7 separate regions of the Homo sapiens genome follow, and regions 1, 2, 3, 4, 5 and 6 are each linked to region 7. Evidence: promoter capture Hi-C in 16 types of primary human blood cells and fetal thymus (Javierre and others, 2016). All regions are on one chromosome and are shown on one strand. The core of a region is centred on a gene start or on the middle of the fragment in contact, and the rest is flanking DNA. Distances in the headings are between cores, read along the strand shown.

What was found. The method cuts DNA at HindIII sites, captures the fragments that hold promoters and counts their contacts. A CHiCAGO score of 5 or more calls a contact.
Region 1: a contact is called between a fragment that was not itself captured here and the fragment with the promoter of SRP72 in region 7, in 3 of 17 cell types (fetal thymus, total CD4 T cells and non-activated CD4 T cells). The highest score is 6.8, in fetal thymus.
Region 2: a fragment that was not itself captured here is called in contact with the fragment with the promoter of SRP72 in region 7 in 7 of 17 cell types (non-activated CD4 T cells, M2 macrophages, M1 macrophages and 4 more); the score reaches 7.7 in non-activated CD4 T cells.
Region 3: a fragment that was not itself captured here is called in contact with the fragment with the promoter of SRP72 in region 7 in 12 of 17 cell types (naive CD4 T cells, M1 macrophages, naive CD8 T cells and 9 more); the score reaches 9.4 in naive CD4 T cells.
Region 4: a fragment that was not itself captured here is called in contact with the fragment with the promoter of SRP72 in region 7 in 2 of 17 cell types (fetal thymus and erythroblasts); the score reaches 6.1 in fetal thymus.
Region 5: a contact is called between a fragment that was not itself captured here and the fragment with the promoter of SRP72 in region 7, in 1 of 17 cell types (naive CD8 T cells). The highest score is 5.0, in naive CD8 T cells.
Region 6: a contact is called between a fragment that was not itself captured here and the fragment with the promoter of SRP72 in region 7, in 3 of 17 cell types (M1 macrophages, naive CD4 T cells and M2 macrophages). The highest score is 5.4, in M1 macrophages.

Annotation. Positions count from the first base shown.
Region 1 is chr4:55,962,613-55,965,376 of GRCh38, reverse strand. CEP135 (centrosomal protein 135) reads right to left here. Exons shown (of 26, transcript NM_025009.5): 7 at 975-1,103. All of the region lies in intron 2 of LOC124900705 (a long non-coding RNA gene), which reads left to right. Among named protein-coding and RNA genes, the nearest start is that of CEP135, 15 kb to the right of the region's middle. The HindIII fragment of the contact is 609 bases long and covers 1,001-1,609 here.
Region 2 is chr4:56,847,436-56,850,182 of GRCh38, reverse strand. No RefSeq gene overlaps it. Among named protein-coding and RNA genes, the nearest start is that of SPINK2, 27 kb to the right of the region's middle. RefSeq lists an enhancer at 951-1,450. The HindIII fragment of the contact is 3,045 bases long and covers 1-2,747 here.
Region 3 is chr4:56,930,423-56,933,122 of GRCh38, reverse strand. REST (RE1 silencing transcription factor) reads right to left here. Exons shown (of 4, transcript NM_005612.5): 4 at 1-2,700. The coding sequence ends at 971. Among named protein-coding and RNA genes, the nearest start is that of REST, 24 kb to the right of the region's middle. The HindIII fragment of the contact is 4,321 bases long and covers 1-2,700 here.
Region 4 is chr4:56,049,701-56,052,400 of GRCh38, reverse strand. All of the region lies in intron 1 of CRACD (capping protein inhibiting regulator of actin dynamics), which reads right to left. Among named protein-coding and RNA genes, the nearest start is that of CRACD, 2.0 kb to the right of the region's middle. The HindIII fragment of the contact is 518 bases long and covers 1,061-1,578 here.
Region 5 is chr4:55,979,276-55,981,975 of GRCh38, reverse strand. CEP135 (centrosomal protein 135) reads right to left here. Exons shown (of 26, transcript NM_025009.5): 12 at 1,681-1,833; 13 at 597-749. Among named protein-coding and RNA genes, the nearest start is that of CEP135, 32 kb to the right of the region's middle. The HindIII fragment of the contact is 1,561 bases long and covers 619-2,179 here.
Region 6 is chr4:56,865,187-56,867,886 of GRCh38, reverse strand. No RefSeq gene overlaps it. Among named protein-coding and RNA genes, the nearest start is that of REST, 41 kb to the left of the region's middle. The HindIII fragment of the contact is 1,416 bases long and covers 610-2,025 here.
Region 7 is chr4:56,466,339-56,469,046 of GRCh38, reverse strand. It overlaps SRP72 (signal recognition particle 72), which reads right to left and starts at 1,430. Exons shown (of 19, transcript NM_006947.4): 1 at 1,303-1,430. The coding sequence starts at 1,411. LOC124900706 (a long non-coding RNA gene) reads left to right here and starts at 1,489. Exons shown (of 2, transcript XR_007058126.1): 1 at 1,489-1,955. RefSeq lists an enhancer at 1,376-1,585. The HindIII fragment of the contact is 5,513 bases long and covers 1-2,708 here.

The DNA of each region.
Region 1 (2,764 bases), core at 56-2,555, 500 kb after region 7:
AAGAATATCAAGATGATAATAGACTGTGTTGTTCAATATAGTAGCCTCTAGCAACCACATGTGGCTACTGAGCATCTGAAATGTGGCTAGTGTAAACTGAGATGTGCTATAACTGTAAAATATACACAGGATTTCAAAGATAATACAAACAAAAAAATAGGTATGTAAAAACATTACTGGTTGAAATTATAATATTTTGGACATACTGGGGTAAATATATTGTTACAATTAATTTCACCTCTTTTTATTTTTTTAAATCAAGCTGCTACTAGAAAAATTTAAATTACATATATGGCTCATATCATATTTCTATGGGACAGCACTCCTCTAGAGCTACTGTTGATATTTTTTACTTACTATATTCTGTTTGTAGCCCAGGCAACTCTGTCATACCAAAATTTCTAAAGTTCCTGTGTCATACTGCATGGAACTCTCCTGCTCTTTCAGCCTTAGGTCAAATGCATGGCAAAGGAATCCACTACGTAAGTAGATAAAAGCTAGGTATTTAATTTTTATATATATTTTTAAATTTTTACATTATAAAATAAATATATACTCATAAAAATTTTAAAAAAGAAAAAGAGAAAACCATAAAGGAGAATATCCCACCACAGAAAGATAAGCTTTGTTAGTATACTTTGGTATATTCTCTTCGTTTTCTCTTTCCAAGTCCATATATACATTTTCTTAAAAGCAAATTGGCAATCATGTGCCCAGAGTTTATTCTCTTCCTTTAAATTGTTAATGTTATGGTGCATGTTAATTACTGCCTCATTAGTCTTTGAAAACATGATTTTTCAATAACTCCACCCTATTTCTGGATACTATGGTTCTATCAAATTTTTCCCATTGCAAATAATACCTCAGTGAACAACTCCTGCCACTTTTACAAACCCATAGACCATTATAAACATATAGTGTTTATTATAAACACCATTATATACACTCAGTGAAATAATTATAAAAGCCATTACCTGAATATTTAAATGAGCAATAAGCTTTTCATTGGTTTTATTTCTAGACTCCAGAGAAAGGACATCAGGGGACCGACCACCATCCAAAGCAACTGACAGTCGTTCTATCTCTCGTTCTCTTAGCTCAATCTGAAGATATAGTCATGCTGTCATTTTAAAAAATCTGGTTTTCAACCAAATGATTAACACTGTACAAACATTTATTTGGATATATTTTCTTATGTACCAATGTATGCAAGAGATTAACATTCATATTTGTGTCCATATATTATATGCATAAATGCAGAACAAAAATAAATTACATAGAAAATGTCAACAGACATGCTGTCACTATATCTTTCATATGTATTTTTACTACATAGATTCTTCCTAATTTAATTTTTGTATTTTTTTCCCTCCTTTAAGATTTAACAATGTTTATATAAAAAGAAACTTGCTAGCAGATTACATACATGCTCAAGTACTAGAACTGAATCTCAACTACTTCAGTTCCTGGTAGAATAAATGAATGAGTGTAACACACTAAGAAAAGTAAGTTGCTACTGAACCTCAATATTAAAAAGAATAGGAAACTGGGGTGAATTTAATTATCTGTTATTTATGTAAGAATTTGGAAAGGCTCACACTTTCAAGCTTTGGCTTTTTCTTTTTCTTTTTGAGACGGAGTTTCACTCTGTCACCCAGTCTGGAGTGCAGTGGCATGATCTCGGGTCACTGCAACCTCTGCCTCCCGGGTTTGAGCAATTCTCCTGCCTCAGCCTCCTGAGTAGCTGGGACTACAGGTATGTGCCACCACGCCTGGCTAATTTTTGTATTTTTAGTAGAGATGGGGTTTTACCATGTTGGCCAGGCTGGTCTTGAACTCCTGACCTCAGGTGATCCGCCTGCCTCGGCCTCCCAAAGTGCTGGGATTATAGGCGTGAGCCACCACTCCTGGCCCAAGCTTTGGTTTTCTTAAATAAATAACCAAACATTCCAAACATACCAAAAAGCAACAAAAACATGGAATGTTTGAGACAGCAGAAATAGCTTGGTATGACTGGATGTAATGTGCATGGGATCTAGTAGTTGGAGATGTCTGAAGAACTAGGACAAAACTAATTACGATTATGCTGGACTAAAGGATGAAATTGACAGGAATAAAAACAGAGGCAGGGGCAGGGAGACCTAATGCAGAAATGCATAAGAAACAATTAATAACTAAAATAAAACAGTGGTAGAGGATAGAACAGAAGAAATAAGTTTAAGAAGCACTTAGCCAGGAGAAATGACAGAACTTGGTGAGTGGTATGCGAAGGCAAGAGAAAGAGATCTAGAAAGAATACAGAATGTGCACTTGGGCAAACATTGATGCTACCAACCAAAGTAGAGAATAAAGGAGTCGAAACCAGAAGAGAAAAAGTTCAGTACAAGGCATATGAGTACAAAAAGACTCCACCCAAGTGGAAATGCCCAATGTAAAGGTGGGTATATGGGTCTGGAGTTCAGCAGAGAAGTTTGAGCCACAGAGAGATGAAGGAGTCATCAATATACAGGCAGTATTTTAAACCAAGAGAGCAGATGAGGACACTTGAAAAAGATACATAAGACGAGAAGGGGTCAAAGACAGAATCCAAGAAAACAGTAATATTTCAGGGAGTGGACAGTTGAAAAAAAGCAAAAAAAAAAAAAAGAGGCTTAAAAAAAAGAAAACTGGAAAAAAATGAAGTCATGGAAGAAGTTTCAAAGAGCAATTATCAATAATATCAAATACCACAGAGTAGGTCAAGAAAACAAAGACTGTAAGTATC
Region 2 (2,747 bases), core at 78-2,577, 380 kb before region 7:
GCGCAATTCATAATTGCAAAACTATGGAACCAACCTAAATGCCCATCAACCAACGAGTGGATAAAGAAAATGTGGTATATATAAATACCATGGAATACTACTCAGCCATAAAACAAAATGAAATAATGGCCTTTGAAGCAAGTTGGATGGAGCTGGAGGTCATTATTCTAAGTGAAGTAACTCAGGAATGGAAAACCAAATACCATAGATTCTCATTGATAAGTGGGAGCTAAACTATGAAGATACAAAGGCATAAGAATTATATAATGGACTTTGGGGACTCAGAGGGAAGGGTGGGGTGGTGAGGAATAAAAGACTACACATTGGGTACAGGGTACACTGCTCGGGTGACAAGGGCACCAAAATCTCAGAAATCATCACTAAAGAGCTTATCCATGGAACCAAAAACTGCCTGTACCTCAAAAACTACTGAAATTTAAAAAAAATGTTTTTTCCCCATGGTTTATATCATTTCCTTATAGGCTTCATTTTTTCCAGAGGTTAACTTTTTTTTTTTTTTTTTGAGACAGAGTCGTGGTCTCTTGCCCAGGCTGGAGTGCAGTGGTGTGATCTCACTGCAACCTCTGCCTCCTGGATTCAAGTGATTCTCGTGCCTCAGCCTCCTGAGTAGCTGCAATTACAGGCTGCTGAGTAGCTGCAATTACAGGCATGTGCCACCATACCCAGCTAATTTTTTTCCTGGCTTCAAGTGTTCTACCCAACTCGCCCTCCCAAAGTGCTGGGATTACAGGCATGAGCCACCGTACCCAGCCTCCAGAGGTTAACTTTTCTTTGCTACCTGCTGCATAATATCATTGATAATTTCTTTGCTACCTGCTGCATAACGTCATTGATAATTTCCATCTGTTCCACTGATATTGTTTCTCCTGGCAACTGTTAGCTGGACTCCTTCAATTTTATCCATCTTAAAATTATATTTGCATGTTTTTCTTTCTTTCTTTCTTTCTTTTTTTTGAGACGGAGTCTCGCTCTGTCGCCCAAGCTCGAGTGCGGTGGCGTGATCTCGGCTCACTGCAAGCTCCACCTCCCAGGTTCATGCCATTCTCCTGCCTCAGCCTCCCGAGTAGCTGGGACTACAGGTGCCTGCCACCACACCCGGCTATTTTTTTTGTATTTTTAGTAGAGTCGGGGTTTCACCATGTTAGCCAGGATGGTTTTGATCTCCTGACCTCCTGATCCACCCGCCTCTGTCTCCCAAAGTGCTGGGATTACAGGCGTGAGCCACCACGCCCGGCCTCTTTCTTTCTTTCTCTTTTTTTTTTTTTTTGAGACGGGGTCTTGCTCTGTCACCAGGCTGGAGTGCAGCGGTGTGATCTTGGCTCACTGCAACCTCCGCCTCCTGGCTTCAAGCGATTCTCCTGCCTCAGCCTCCTGAGTAGCTGGGACTACAGGTGTGCACCATCACACCCAACTAATTTTTGTATTTTTAGTAGAGACGGGGTTTCACCATGTTGGTCAGGATGGTCTCTATCTCCTGACCTCGTGATCCGCCCAGCTCGGCCTCTCAAAGTGCTGGGATTGCAGGTATGAACCACCGCTCCTGGCCCTTTCTTTTTTTGAGATGGAGTCTCACTCTGTTGCCAGGCTGGAGTGCAGTGACATGATCTCGGCTCACCGCCAATCTCCGCCTCCTGGTTTCAAGTGATTCTCCTGCCTCAGCCTCCCAAGCAGCTGGGATTACAGGCATGCACCACCATGTCCCACTAATTCTGTATTTTTAGTAGAGGTGGGGTTTTGCCATGTTGTCCAGGCTGTTCTTGATCTCCTGACCTCAAGTGATCCTTGAGCCTTGGCCTCCCAAAGTGCTGGTATTAAAAGGATAAGCCACCGCACCCAGCCTTATTTGCATGTTTTTCATATTGAGAATTTATTAAATTTTTTACTGCATGGTAGATTCCTGAACTTTCACTGTATTATTTCTCTTAGTCTTTAGTTATAATAATTTTTTCCATGTGGAAAAAATATCTGCCTAACATATGGAAAAATAAAAGAAAAAACATGGAAGATCAAGCCATTTCACCAGTCCTTCAGGCTGCCCTTGCCTCCTACTTAATTCCTTCTTTCTGCCCTTCTCTAAGCTCTTCCTAAATATGGCATTGAGAAGGCATTTACATTTCTTTTCTTTTTTTTATTTTTATTTTTGAGATGGAGTCTCACTCTGTCACCCAGGCTGGAGTGCAATGGCGTGATCTCGGCCCACTGCAACCTCTGCCTCCCAGGTTCAAGAGATTCTCTTGCCTCAGACTCCCAAAAAGCTGGGATTACAGGCACCTGCCACCAGGCCTGGCTAATTTTTTTTTTTCTATTTTTAGTAGAGACAGGGTTTCACCAGATTGGCCAGGCTGGTCTCAAACTCCTGACCTCAAGTGATCCACCTACCTTAGCCTCCCAAAGTGCTGGGATTACAGGCGTGAGCCACTGCACCTGGCCGGTATTTACATTTCTCTCTCTTTCTCCCCAGCTTCTCCTTCCCTTCCTTTTTGAGAGTTGCCATAGGAGCCTCTAAGATAGCTCCCAACATTTCACCCTCCTGGTATTCATGCCCTTGTGTACTCCCTCCCCTTCCTTTAAGTGTCAGCTGAACAAGGTGACTTGCTTCTAACAAATAGAATAGGGCATGAGTAATGGGATGGCACTTCCAAGATTAGCATGCAAAAAGAATATGTGATTTTCATCTTGTATTCTCTCATTCTCTCTGCCTTCATTCTGGGGGAAGCCAGCTGACA
Region 3 (2,700 bases), core at 84-2,583, 460 kb before region 7:
GTGAATTTACTACATCCATTCGAAATAAATAAGTTATATGAAATACAGATTCTGGCATAGATATAAGATGTAAAAATCAAAATCAATAGATTGAACCTGCATATTTCATTTGCTCACAAACTTGCACACACTATTATTCTGCAAAATAGACAACTGCAGCAAAGAAAAAGAAAACTGCCCTTTTGCAAACAAGTCTAAAAGCATCCCTCCAAAGACGCCAAACAAAATAAACATGCATATATATATGTATAAAGTGTTACTGTTCAACACAAATGCTATTTCTAGGAAAAATTTAACTGCATAGGCAAAAAAACATAAACAGAAACCAAAAGAAAAAAAAAATGTGCAACATCTTAAGCCATTAAAGCACCAAAATAAAAAACACACCAAAATCACTGTTTTTATGACGATTAACATACACAAATAAAAAATATTGATCAAAACTCAGGAAGTAAATACTTGGACTGATAGACTGTCTATTGCTGGGGGAATTTTTCTTCAATTTAAATGTCTTCTCATCTCTAAAAAAAAAAATCTTAAAGTGCTAACTTTATATAAAGCAGGCAAATTCTTCAAGTAATTTGCTATTAAGTAAGCCAATTTTTTATAGATCTCAATAAAAAACGAAGAATAAACTAAAGTGAAACAGGAAGATAAGACATGGAGAAAAAAATGACAAGTTGTAGCTGGACAAAGCAATAAAATGCTGTTATACCATCTTAGCCTTCTAATTTCAATTAAACACATAAGCTAACAGATACCTGCTGGTTTAGTACACTCTCTTAGATTTACTAAAATTTACACAACAATCAACAGGTATACATAAAAAGTCCTAAGGAAAAGAATGCCACTTAAAAATCAACATCAGATACTAATTAAAGCAATCTTAAAAGGTTGTCTGCTATCATAAATGAATATAAAATGTAATATACCTTACAAACTAAGAACTGAAACCTTGTTCAAAGTTTCATTACTCCTGCCCTTGAGCTGCTTCTTCAAGATAGTACACATTAACCAAATGGCGATTGAGGTGTTTGCTGTAATCTTTTCCCTTTCTGAAAGAACGATCACAGAAGATACAAACAAAATCTCCCTTAGCCGCTTTGACTGCCAAGGCTTCCTTTGCATTTTTTCTGCTAGATTCTTGTGGAACTGGCCGAGCCCCATGCAATCCAGAATCATCACTACCCTCTGACATGTTGTCACTTAGGTCACTTCCTTCATGGCTGTGGATGCCTTCATCTTCATCAATTTCCTGAGACTCATTTGCTGCCATTGTAGCAGGAGGTGATGCCAGTGCAGTTTTGGACACTGCTTCACGTTCTTCTACTGCTGAAGGGGGAAGCATTGGTGAAACTGGTTCTTCAACTGTTGAATTTATACCAGTGAGATTCTCTCTTGTGTTCTGATCAGTGTCCATTTTCATTTCACAAACTATACTGTCAGTCTGATGTTTACCATTTAAAGTTTCACCCTCTGGCGTATTCAAGTTTTGTCCAGAGGATGAAATATGGGTAGATTCGTTGATATTAGCAGCAAGACCAGGTAGGCTCTCATCTGCCTCTTCTGCTCCTACTTTCTGAAGAGGGGCTTCTTTATTTCCTTCACCTGTGTTGAGTAATTTTTGGTCTCCTGATGCCTCTTCTCTTAAATTTTCCTTTGGCAGTGGTGGTGATGGTGGTGAGAGATCCTCTGTGCTTACACTTTCCTTTAGAAGCCAGCTATCTTTAACAGGCACTAAGCCAACTTCAATAAGGACTTGCTCCTTCCGTGCCCTTTCACTCTGCATGTTAGACTTTTCCTTTTTATCTTTTCGGAGAGGAGGCTTTTTGGAAATTGGCTCCATGTGAAGGGGAGGCTCTCTGGGAGGAGGTGGCTCCCTCTGAGCAGGCTCCTTCTGAACCACCCCCATGGGAGGAGACAACTCCATCTGAACAGGCTCCTTCTGGACCACCTCTATGGGAGGAGACAGCTCTATCTTAACAGGTTCCTTCTGGACCACCTCCATGGGAGGAGACAGCTCTATCTGAACAGGCTCCTTCTGGACCACCTCCATGGGAGGAGACAGCTCCATCTGAACAGGCTCCTTCTGGACCACCTGCATGGGAGCAGATTCTACCTGGGCAACCTCCATCTGAGCAGGTTCCATGGGAGCAGGCCCCATTTGGGCAACCTCCGTCTGAGCAGTCTCCATGGGAGGAGGCAGCTCCATGTGAGCAAGTACAATTTGGGCACCCACCATCTGAGCAGGCTCCACGGGAGGCAGCAGCTCCTTCTGAGCAGGCCCCTCCTGAACCACCTCCATCTGAACAGGCTCGTCAGGAGCAGGCCGTATCTGGGCACCCTCCATCTGAGCATGCTCCATGGGAGGTGGCGGCTCCACCTGAACGGGCCCCTTCTGAACCGCCTCTGTGGGAGCAGGCCCCATCTGAGGAGGGTCCATCTGAGCAGATCCCTTCTCAACAGGTTCCTTCTGAGGAGGCTTACTGCTTTTCTTACTTGATTTATTTTTCAGAGTTTTCTTCTTTGTACTTTTTTTCATGCAAGTATTTTGCTTTTTATTCTCCTCCACTTTGCTGTCACCCTTTGGCACTTCCTGACTATTATTTTTGGATTTGCTTTCTACCTTCTTTTTCTTTTTTGTTGAAGATTCCTCATCATTCACAGGACCATGTAAAGAATGGCTGTCAACTTCCAGCT
Region 4 (2,700 bases), core at 70-2,569, 420 kb after region 7:
GTAGTTCCTGACCCATTAATGGGATGTGAAATCATTTAGCGATCTCAACCAACATTTTTTAAATAAAATAGAATAAAAAATATAAGAATGCATTGCACATTCAAAGTCTAAGCATTACTTCATGAATTTTTTAATTACAGATATTTACAATGTATCTGTATACTGGGTGGCAAAGTAAAATGCATCTCTTACTGTGCAAAAATAAAAGTTTAGGCTGGGCGCAGTGGTTCATGCCTGTAATCCTAGTATTTTGGGAGGCCAAGGCAGGAGGATTGCTTGAGACCAGCCTGGGCAACACAGTGAGACCTCACCTCTTTAAAAAAATAAAAATAAAATAAAAAATTAAAAAGTTTAAAAGCCATTGCTTTACATTAAAATAATGAAAATAAAAATTAGCTGACACTGAGTGCTTAGTTTGTACTAAACATTGTGCTATGCCCACATTATTTTATTTGATCCTCACAAAAATGTTCTAAATAGGATTACTTCCCCCATTTTACAGATGAGGAAACTGAGGCTTAGATTAAATCACCTGCCAAGGATGCAGAGCTAGTAGCCAGTAAAGCCAATGCTCAAATTCAATCACCTGCCTCGAGAACTTGTGTATTTAACCACTCCCCTAAGTACTAGGTTGTAAAATATACCTTTTCTTTATGTAAAAGTTATCCAAAAGGTAGACTTTTTCATGGGGTCTAATTCCAGCGTGATTTTCTGGGGGTACAGTGTATCTTGGAGAAGGTTGTGTGATTCAGGGGAGAAAGCTCTGGGCGTGAGATCCAGCTTCTGTCCCTGGCATTGTTGCTTTAGTGGCAAGGAGCTGGCAAGTCATTTAATCTCGCCATGTCTGGATTTCCTCACCTACAAAACGGGAATGATAATATCTGCCCTGCCTCCCCACAGGCCATTGTGAGAAACTATATGCACATACAACAAGTGAAATGTTCTATTGTGCCACTCAGTTACAGGAGATGATTTAAAATGATGAAAAAAACCACCCAAGAGACCCCATTCTTGGAAGAAACACACATCAACTATGACTGAAAAAGGAGGTCACCAAGCTTTCATCAACTGTATGTGGAAAACCTCTACACAGTTGTTGGCACACAGTAGGCCTTCAGTAAATGTTCGTTGAATAAAAAGTAAACAAATTCCATCTGTACACGTTTTATCCACTTGTATTTTTTTCACCTATTCATTCTTTCTTTCCATGACTACATACTGAACACCTACTGTGTGCCAGATCAGAAATACAGACCACAAAAAAAGACTAAAAGATTGTCCCTTTCCCTGGAGAATTTCAAATTAATGCCAATTAATTGGTCTGAAATTGGGTAAGAGAAAAACTGTAAAACACAGCTTCCTCATCTAGCGATAATAATAACTTACATTTATTATAGTGCTTTGTAGTTTATGAAGAACTATGAACTATTACCAAGAGCTAGCTTTTGTTTCTCACACCAATTGCCTATTGTCAAGTTGGTGTTAGCTTCCTCCTCCAAATTCAGTGGTCGGTAAGTACTGCTAAGTCTTTAGAGTGAAAGTTTCTCAATGTGTTAGAGATGACTGTAAAATTAAGCTTTTGAATACAATGCATTTTAAATAATCAACAGTGGAAAGGGCGATCCAGTAACATGATTTTTTCCCTGCCCACTTCTGAGTTGAAGTGATCTGTAATGCAACCATATTATATTTTTCAAAATGTTTCTTTTTCAAAGCTGCCTTTGAAATTTTTTTTCATATAGGCAATTTTCTCTTGAATATACTGAACAAGGATTCCCTTTTCCCAAAGGATAAAGGAGACAGTAGTGAAGGAGTCTTCTCTTTGTTGACTTTTTAAAAATTACTCAAAACTGACTGTTTTATTCAGATTCCTGAGTCACAAACAATGCCAAAGAACTGTGAGCCATTTTTTATATAATTCCACAATTACTATAGGTGATTTTTAAAGGAAACATTGATTTAACTCACAACTTAATGAATCAAAAATTTGCCACAGGATATTTACTAAGAATCTTTTTCTAAAACTGCCTTATCCTTTGTATTCTAACCACTCCCTCTCCACCACCACCACTTACCACCCCCAATACACACACACACACACACACACACACACACACACACACACACTCCCTCACCTACACCAGATCAGTTTCCCAGCCATTATTCCTAAAACCATATTAAAATTTCACAACACATGGTCGTACTTACTAGGTTTTCTTCCCCCTCCCCCTCCACTGAATCAATGTGTCTTGAAATATATATTCTCTTAAAATTCAGAATTCAGAAAATGATTACGATGTCTCTAACTCAAGAACACATATTATAAAATTCAAAGTCGGCTTCTGTTTACTGATAATCATGAAAAAAAAAAAGCCATACCCCACCCACCGTATCCGTAGGGTTAGGAGGTCCAATCTCGCCACTACAGAGCTCTGCAAGAAAGGACGGTTATAGTGCCAGGAAAACCATCGCAACAAGCCCCGGGCGAAGATAAAGAAAACAGATTTTACACCACGGGCAGCGCGCAGTCTCCTGGCCCCGGCCCTTGGTAAACAGGGGAAACCTTTGTCTTGCCTCAGCTATCAAACTGGTGGCTCATCAGAATTGGGGCAACAAGAGTTTGTGCGAAACGGTCTGGCAGAGGTTAAACAAAGCAATGCAGCTCCGGGGGCGGTGGGGAGAGGGCTGAGCCCGGACGGC
Region 5 (2,700 bases), core at 150-2,649, 490 kb after region 7:
ATCAGGAGGTAACCCCAGTATAAGTTGAGGAGCCTGTGGACTCAACAATGGCTTAAGATTTTTCAATATAAGACTTTACAATGGGTTTACTGGGGTATTAAATGCATTTTTTCCGACTTACATTTTTTACTTATGATGGGTTTATTGGAATGTAATCCCATTGTAAGTCAAAGAGCATCTATGCTAAAACCAATGAAATGGTATACTTTAAGTGGGTGAATTGTATGGTATGTGAATATCTCTGTAAAGCTGTTACAAAAACAAACAAACAAACAAAGATACTGTCTTCCCATATGAGAAACTTCTGCTTAAGTTCAGGGATTGGCAAACTTTTTCTGTAAAAAAACAGTAAATATTTTAGGTTTTGTAGGTCATACTACAAAAGAAGCTAAAGATAATACATAAACAAATAAGCAAGGTAATCCAATAACATTTTATCAACAATGAAATATTCTTCTTAATCCATTCTTAGCTCACAGGCCATACATAAACAAAGTGGTCTGGATTTGGCCAATAGTAACTTCACAGGAAAATGTATATACAAAGACCTCTTTTTCTCAACAAATTACCTTTCAAAAACATGTCAATCTTCTTACCTCTAATTTTTCTCTTAAAGCTTCCTTTTCTGCCATAATTCTTCTTAAGTCAGATAACGCAAGTTCTTTTTCCTTTTCCATAAGACTAACAATATTATGGGGTGCTGTGGTTTGGGTGGATTCCTTTCTTAGGGCAGATAATTCTTCCTGAGCCTTAAAGAATGAAAAGATATAAATTAAAAAGGCACTTTAGTAAAAGATATAAATAAAAAATACTTTGGATATGTTTCCAGTTAAAAAAGGCATACTGAACACATGCTACCGTCACTCTCTTCGCAAATCCCAACAAAAGATTAAAATAGTAAGAATAATAAAACAAAAAAGACAAGGGGATTGAGGGAGGCACCAGCCACAAAATGTTGGAAACTAGACAGCAGACAGACAAGCAGGAAGTAACTAGGCAGACCCAAGAAAGCTGAAATCTAAGCTAGCAATGGGGAAAGCCCAGAAGTGGATCAATTTACACTGCAGAATTCCCCCCAAAAAACTCATTAAGTGACTCTTTCAACGTGACCTTTAACTTGCATGCCTCTTCCCCTTCTCAAAATAGCAGTAGGATTTCATGGGAGATGGGTATGTGAACAAATTTAGGTGACAGACACCATGCTTTGCTCAGACTTACCTTGCCCTCTAACAACTGAGGATTTGTTAATGGGGCCAAGCTGAATACCAATTCCCTCTTCCTAGAGTACAGTATTTAGAGACTAAGTCCTAAATAGCCAATATATCCAAATAGTGGGTGCTACCCACTGTTTTGATAGACATTTCCCTACGTCTGAATTCCAAGCATAAATTTGGCTCAGAGTCAGGCTGAGACCTGCTTCAGGTAGTTTTAGAAAAAGAAGACTATCTCTAACTGATCTGACACATAGATAGGCTAGAAAAGGGAAAGAATAAATATGAAAAAATAAGAGAAATTTGTGTTTTAGAAACAGAATGATAGTAGAAACTACTACTGATAATTTTAATTATGAAGAAATATCACAGGTCCATATATTATAGTAATGTGAAAGATATATACAGGCTCCATTATAGTTAACTGGTTCTATACAATCTATTGGCTTAATTATAATACATTTCTTACTTCATTATATAAGACACTTAGTTTATCTCTTTCTGCTGTCAATAATTTAACATTGGACTGTATATCTTCCATATATTTTTCAAATCTTTCTAGCATACGCTGAAGTTCATCTCTTTCTCTTGTGATCTGATGAATTTCTGAATTGTAATCACCCTGAAACATAATTAAAAAACAAAATATAATCATCACCACATGGTTGTCACAAGGATACTGATGATGAGATTGACTGAAAGATGCTACCAGACAAAAAGAACACAAGTGCCTTTAACGTAATTAAGGAACACAGTTTTAAAAATCTATGATGAGAGCAGATGAGAGCACTGGCAGTACCAGGGCAAATTTCCTGGCCTTCAAGTTCCCAGAAGAGACTTAGCTGCCAATGATGTGACTTGATCAGATCCCATGAGATGTTTCAACTTTTATTCTCCCAAAGTTGTTCATACTCGTGGTACTTGAAGTATAATCCCCAGACCAGAAGCATTAGCAGTATCTAAAAGCTTGTCAGACATGCAAATTTTGGAGTTTGAAGCCCAACCCAGACCTACTCAGTCAAGAAACTTCCGGGTAGGGCCAAGTAACTGTATTTTATCAAGCCCTCTAAGTGATTCTGATGCCTGGTAATTTTTTAGAGCCACTAGTTAGTTTATCTTCTCCAGAGAAGGGGCCAGCAGGGTACTTGTGTGCCTGCTCGCCCAGTACAGGTAACTGTAACAGCCTAGCACATTTCTCAGTGTTTTCTATGATTGAATCTAAGATCAATACGCCAGGCATACCAACCCCCAACTGTCTCAGCTTCAGACCTACAGGAGGTCTTTTTATACAGTCAAATAAATGCAAATATTTCTACCAGGCAGTATATATTAAGAATATTCACTGAATAAGCAACTACTTCCAACATTTCTACAATTTAGTGCAATTTAAAAGATGCCTACAATTTAGTACAATTCAAAAGATTCACTGTCTTCATCACTATGGTAGAAAATAAAGATGAGAGCACTCTGATTCTCCCCATGCACATGT
Region 6 (2,700 bases), core at 68-2,567, 400 kb before region 7:
ACTGAAAATAAGCTATTCTGCTGGGCATGGTGGCTCACACCTATAATCCCACCACTTTGTGAGGCTGCGGTGGGAGGATTGCTTGAGCCCTGGAATTGGCGACCAGCCTCGGCAACATAGTGAGTCCCCATCTCTATAAAATTTTTTTTTAATTAGCTGGGCGTGGTGGCACATTCCTGTAGTCCTAGCTACTTGGGAGATTGAGGTGGGAGAATCCCTTGAGACCAGAAATTCAAGCCTGCAAAGAGCTATGATTGTGCCACTGCATTCTAGCCTGTGTGACAGAGTGAGACCCTGTCTCCAAAAATAAAATAAAATAAGGCATTCTAATAAAGTTAACCAGAACAATCTGAAATCTTTTATGTTCTTTTCAAGAAGTCATGGTAAATCTTACCATGACTGAAATTCAAGGAACTTTGAACACCTGAAAGTATCCAGAAGAATCAGCGACTAAAATTGGACAGACAAAAAATGTAAAATATCATAGTTTTATGCTCCATCATATATTCACTAGCTCCTACTGCTTGCCTGAAAATATACACTTCTTTGTGCATGGCTCACAATTCTTCTTTGAGTACAGCTATTGTTGATACATTGAGCTCACAAGCTTCAAGTGGCCGAAATTGTTGCTTCTTGAGAATGTTTATAGATCTCTCTAAACGAGAAACAGAAAACAATATTCTTCCTTTGTTTCTTGCTTGGAATAAGTAAAGCTCAAAGTAACATGCAAAGATCAGAGGGAAAATGGGACTCCAACATAATAATTCTGAAGGGCTGGGCATGGTAATTCATGCCTTTAATCCCAGCACTTTGGGAGGCAGAGGCGGGCGGATCATGAGATCAGGAGTTCGAGACCAGCCTGGCCAACATGGTGAAACCCCATCTCTACTAAAAATACAAAAATTAGCGGGGCGTGGTGGTGTAATCCTCAGGAGGCTGAGACAGAAGAATTGCTTGAACTTGGGAGGGGGAGGTTGCAGTGAGCTGAGATCGCGCCACCGCATTCCAGCCTGGACGACAGAGCGAGACTCCATATCAAAAAAAAAAAAAAAAAATTCTGGAGGCTTCCGTGTTTGTCGATCATCACTAAAGAGATCTGTATATGGCTTCGGAAAACAAAAACAAACAATAAGAAAAAAAGCCCTTCAGAGATAAGGAGTTTTCCCTTCATGTTTTGTTGTTGTTGTTGGTTTGGTTTGTTTCTGGGGTGGAGTCTCACTGTTGCCCAGGCTGGAGTAGCGTGGTGTGATCTCAGCTCACTGTAACCTCTGCCTCCCAGGTTCAAATGATTCTCCTGCCTCAGCCTCCTAGGTTGGGACTATAGGCTCCCACCACCATGCCCGGCTAATTTTTGTATTTTTAGTAGAGATCGGGTTTCACTATCTTGGCCAGGCTGGTCTCAAACTGCTGACCTCAGGTGATCTGCCTGCCTTGGCCTCCCAAAGTGCTGGGATTACAGGTGTGAGCCATGGCACCCAGCTCCTTCATGTTAAAAACATGTACTGTGGGCATTCTCAAGGTGCCATGAGGAATCCAAAGGTGTCCATGACAGGTTCTTAGCCCTGGGTCTCTGCCTTTGTAATTCTGGGACAGATAAATCTGAAAGCCAAGGCCAATATAAAATGAAAATGTGAGCCCCTTGTTAAATTTTTTTTAAAGGAGAATTTCAAGACAGTGACAGCAGAACATTATATCTAGCACAGGGTGCTTCTAACTGTGGGGCCCCATGTGGCTATACATGTTGCATACTGATGTGGTTTGGATATTTGTTGCCTCCAAATCTCATGTTGAAATGTGATTTCCAATGTTGGAGGTGGGGCCTGGTGGGAGGTGACTGGATCACTGGGTGGATCCCTCATGAATGACTTAACACTATTCTCTTGATGATGAGTGAGTTCTCCTTCAGTGAGTTCACGTGTGATCTTGTTGTTGAGGAGTGTGGGACCTGCCTCACCCTCTTTTTTGCTCCCACTCTGGCCATGTGACATGCTGGCTCCCCATCACCTTGCACCATGATTGGAAGCTTCTTGAGGCCTTGCCAGAAGCTGATGTCAGCACCATGCTTCCTGTAAAGCCTGCAGAACCGTGAGCCAATTAAACCTCTTTTCTTAAATTACGCAGTCTCAGGCATTCCTTCCTAGTAATGCTACAACTGACTAATACACATACCCATGAAGTCGTTCCTCAAGAAAACCATTAAGGTAAAATAGAATGAAATAAATGCTAAAGAAATACAAAGGTGCAGAGGAAATAAAAAGGAAGAAGCAATTATGTACCCGCACTACAGAAAAGGAGTTAAAAGGCCGAACACAGTGGCTCAAGTCTGTACAATCCCAGCGCTGTGGGAGACTGAGGAGGGTAGATCACCTGAGGTTGGGAGTTCAAGACCAGCCTGGCCAACATGGCAAAACTTCGTCTCTACTAAAAATACAAAAATTAGCCCAGCGTGGTGGCACGCACCTGTAATCCCAGCTACTCGGGAGGCTGAGGCACAAGAATCACTTGAATCTGGGCGACGGAGGTTGCAGTGAGCTGAAATCATGCCACTGCACTCCAGCCTGGGTGACAGAGCAAGACTTTGTCTCAAAAAAAAAGGGGGGGCTAATAGATTATTGACAAACATGTTGCTACCTCACACTTCCCTCTCCTAGGTGTGGGTCTCTAACATCTCTGTCAGTGCACTTACCACCTCAAATGGTA
Region 7 (2,708 bases), core at 181-2,680:
TAAAATTTCCCCTTTTCAACTAAGATGACCAAAGTATAAGGAAGAACTCAGGTGGCAAGTTTCAACGCTAACAACTGTTCGGTGTTAAAATGACCAGGATCATAGTTACTCTTGCTCCTGTGCAACTACAGAAGTCCAATTCTCAAAGAATCACAAGAATTTCTACCAATTAAGAAAACATACTGGTAAACAAGTTGACAATCTTTGCTGATTAAAGAATTCCTGCAAAATACTATACTAAGTATACAGTACTGGTTGGAAGGCTAGAGTTAATTCAAACAAATTTAGGGATCAAATAATTCTAATTCGTAGCTATTTTCCTCAATGTCTGAAATCACCAAAAGTGCACTGTGGGCACAATCACTACTTTTCACGTTAACCCAGTACTAGAGTGTTGAAAATTACTTAGATAGCTTTGCATGTTACTGACACACCTTTTAGGTTACTGCTACTCTGAACAGCTAAGCCCTGCCTTGGTAATTACATTTCCAAATCTAACATGCACAGGCTGTATCTTCAGTAGAGAAGAACTGCGCACCACCGAGAACATTAAGCAGCATGGCCATATTCCAGGTATGTAGTAAGGAACAAAAGAATATGATGAATTAAACCTCACACCAAAGGCGGTAAAAACCGAAATCATCCCTTACAGGGCAAAAAAACAGGCCAAACTTTTCTTCCGACATTATTTCAAGTGTTGGTGCTTCCACACACATATTTCCTAACTTAATAACACTGAAGAGATCTCATCTATGGGAATGACAGGCCTGACATCCAGATCCAGCCCTTTCCTCTCGCCCCGTAGAACCCGTACAGCTTCCACCTGGTTAGCACCAGCCTCTAAACTACGTGTCCCAAGCAGGTTCCTCCCCCTTTAGCGGCCAAAGAGAACAAGCTCCCTCAGCAATAGAGTCCTGATCACTGCGCTCAAGACGAAGAAGAAAAGGAGGCACTTTGGAATATTTGTGAAATAAAGCAGCAAAGGAGTCAAATAAGAAAACAGTTTGAAATGGACTCCGGGAGCTGCGGTCTCTTTAAAACCTTCCCTCGCTTCCCGCGGAGGGTAAAAAGAGAAGTACACGTGGCTGTAAGCAACCAGGGACCCCAGGCTGGCCTGGTGAAGCCGAGGAGTGAGACCTGCGTCTTCCGGGCGCTAGGGCCCGAGCCGGGCGGACAATAGACGGGGGGGTTTCGGGGGTCTCCCCTTCCCGTGCCTCCCGCGCGAGGTGGTCTCGCGCGCCGGAAACAGGCCGCATCCTCCAGCCGGCCTGGGCCCGCCCCAGTGCCCACCCCGACACTTACTCTTATTGACGGTCTTGAGAGCGCGCGTGAAGTCGCCGTTCTGGCCATACCGGTTCACTTCACTCCACAGCGCAGGTACTGACACCCCCCCGCTGCCGCCGCTCGCCATCTTGGAGGAGACGAGGGGCGGGGCGGGGAGACCTCTGCCCCGGAACAGGATCTCCGAGGCAGCCAAGAGGAGGAGGAAGTCGATGATTGCTAAGCGTCGCCGAGTTGGGAGTGTCTTCAGCCCTAAGGCAGCATCAGAGATCATAATCTTCTGCTCTCGTGGCAAGAAATTTGTGCGGATAGAGTTGATACACCTCACTTGAAGTTGGCCTGGAGAAAAGAGGCGTCGGACTCCTGGACGGGGTTGGGAAACGGTCACCAGTTTCGGCTCAAAGCAGCCTGTTTCCAGGAGACCGCCATGGTCGAGGCAGCGTCCTGGTCCCACGGTGCGGGGCCGGACGATCATTTATGGGATATAAATAAAAGGACTATGAGGTGGTAAATAAAAGACTACCAACTAGAAGCCATAGGGAGTCATTTGAAGGAGAAATAGGCACGGCTCATCTGTGGTTGAGGGAAAGGGATCTTGAAAGATGATTAGGAGAACTTGGGTTCTGGGGAAAGTGCGGGAAGACATTCTGGCAGAGAAGCAAACGTGAGGAAAGGTAAGAAGGCAAGAATCTCCCATTACAAAGGGTTTGGTGAAACCCTTTGCCTGTCCTTTTCGCTCCCTTCGGGAGCAGTCGGCAATAAGCTGGAAGGGTAATGGGGTGAAAATGCCCGTGGTCAGTTCCCTGGCTCTGCGACTCACTAGATGTCTGACAATAAACAAGTTACTTAGCTTCTGGGAGTCTGTTTTCCCGATTGTGAAATGGGGATACTATATTTGTTCTAGAGATATAAAATATTAGGGTTTGCTTGCGACCGTTAATATCAAGATGTGTTCAGATGTACGAAGGGAATGGATATCTGTTGGGTACACTTGATGTGAGTGATTTTTTTTTTTTTTTGAGACGGGGATCTTGCCGTGTTGCCCAAGCTGGTCTGGAACTCCTGGGCTCAAGCAATCCTCCCACCACAGCCTCCCCAAGTGCTGGGATTACAGGCATGAGCCACCACACCAAGACGATGTGAGTGATTCACTTGATGTGAATGTTGTATTTCATTGAATGGCCTGCTCTTCAGACTCATATCTCGTCATGACCTTTACAACTTCTACTACTTCCTGTGTCCCTCAGGAACCTAGCTTTTTTTTTTTTTTTTTTTTTTTTTTTTTGAGACGTAGTCTAGCTCTGTGACCCAGGATGAACCTCACTGCAATCTCCACCTCCTGGGTTAAAGCGATTCTTTTGCCTCAGCCTCCCAAGTAGCATGAGCCACCACGCCCGGTTAATTTTTGAATTTTTAGTAGAGATGGG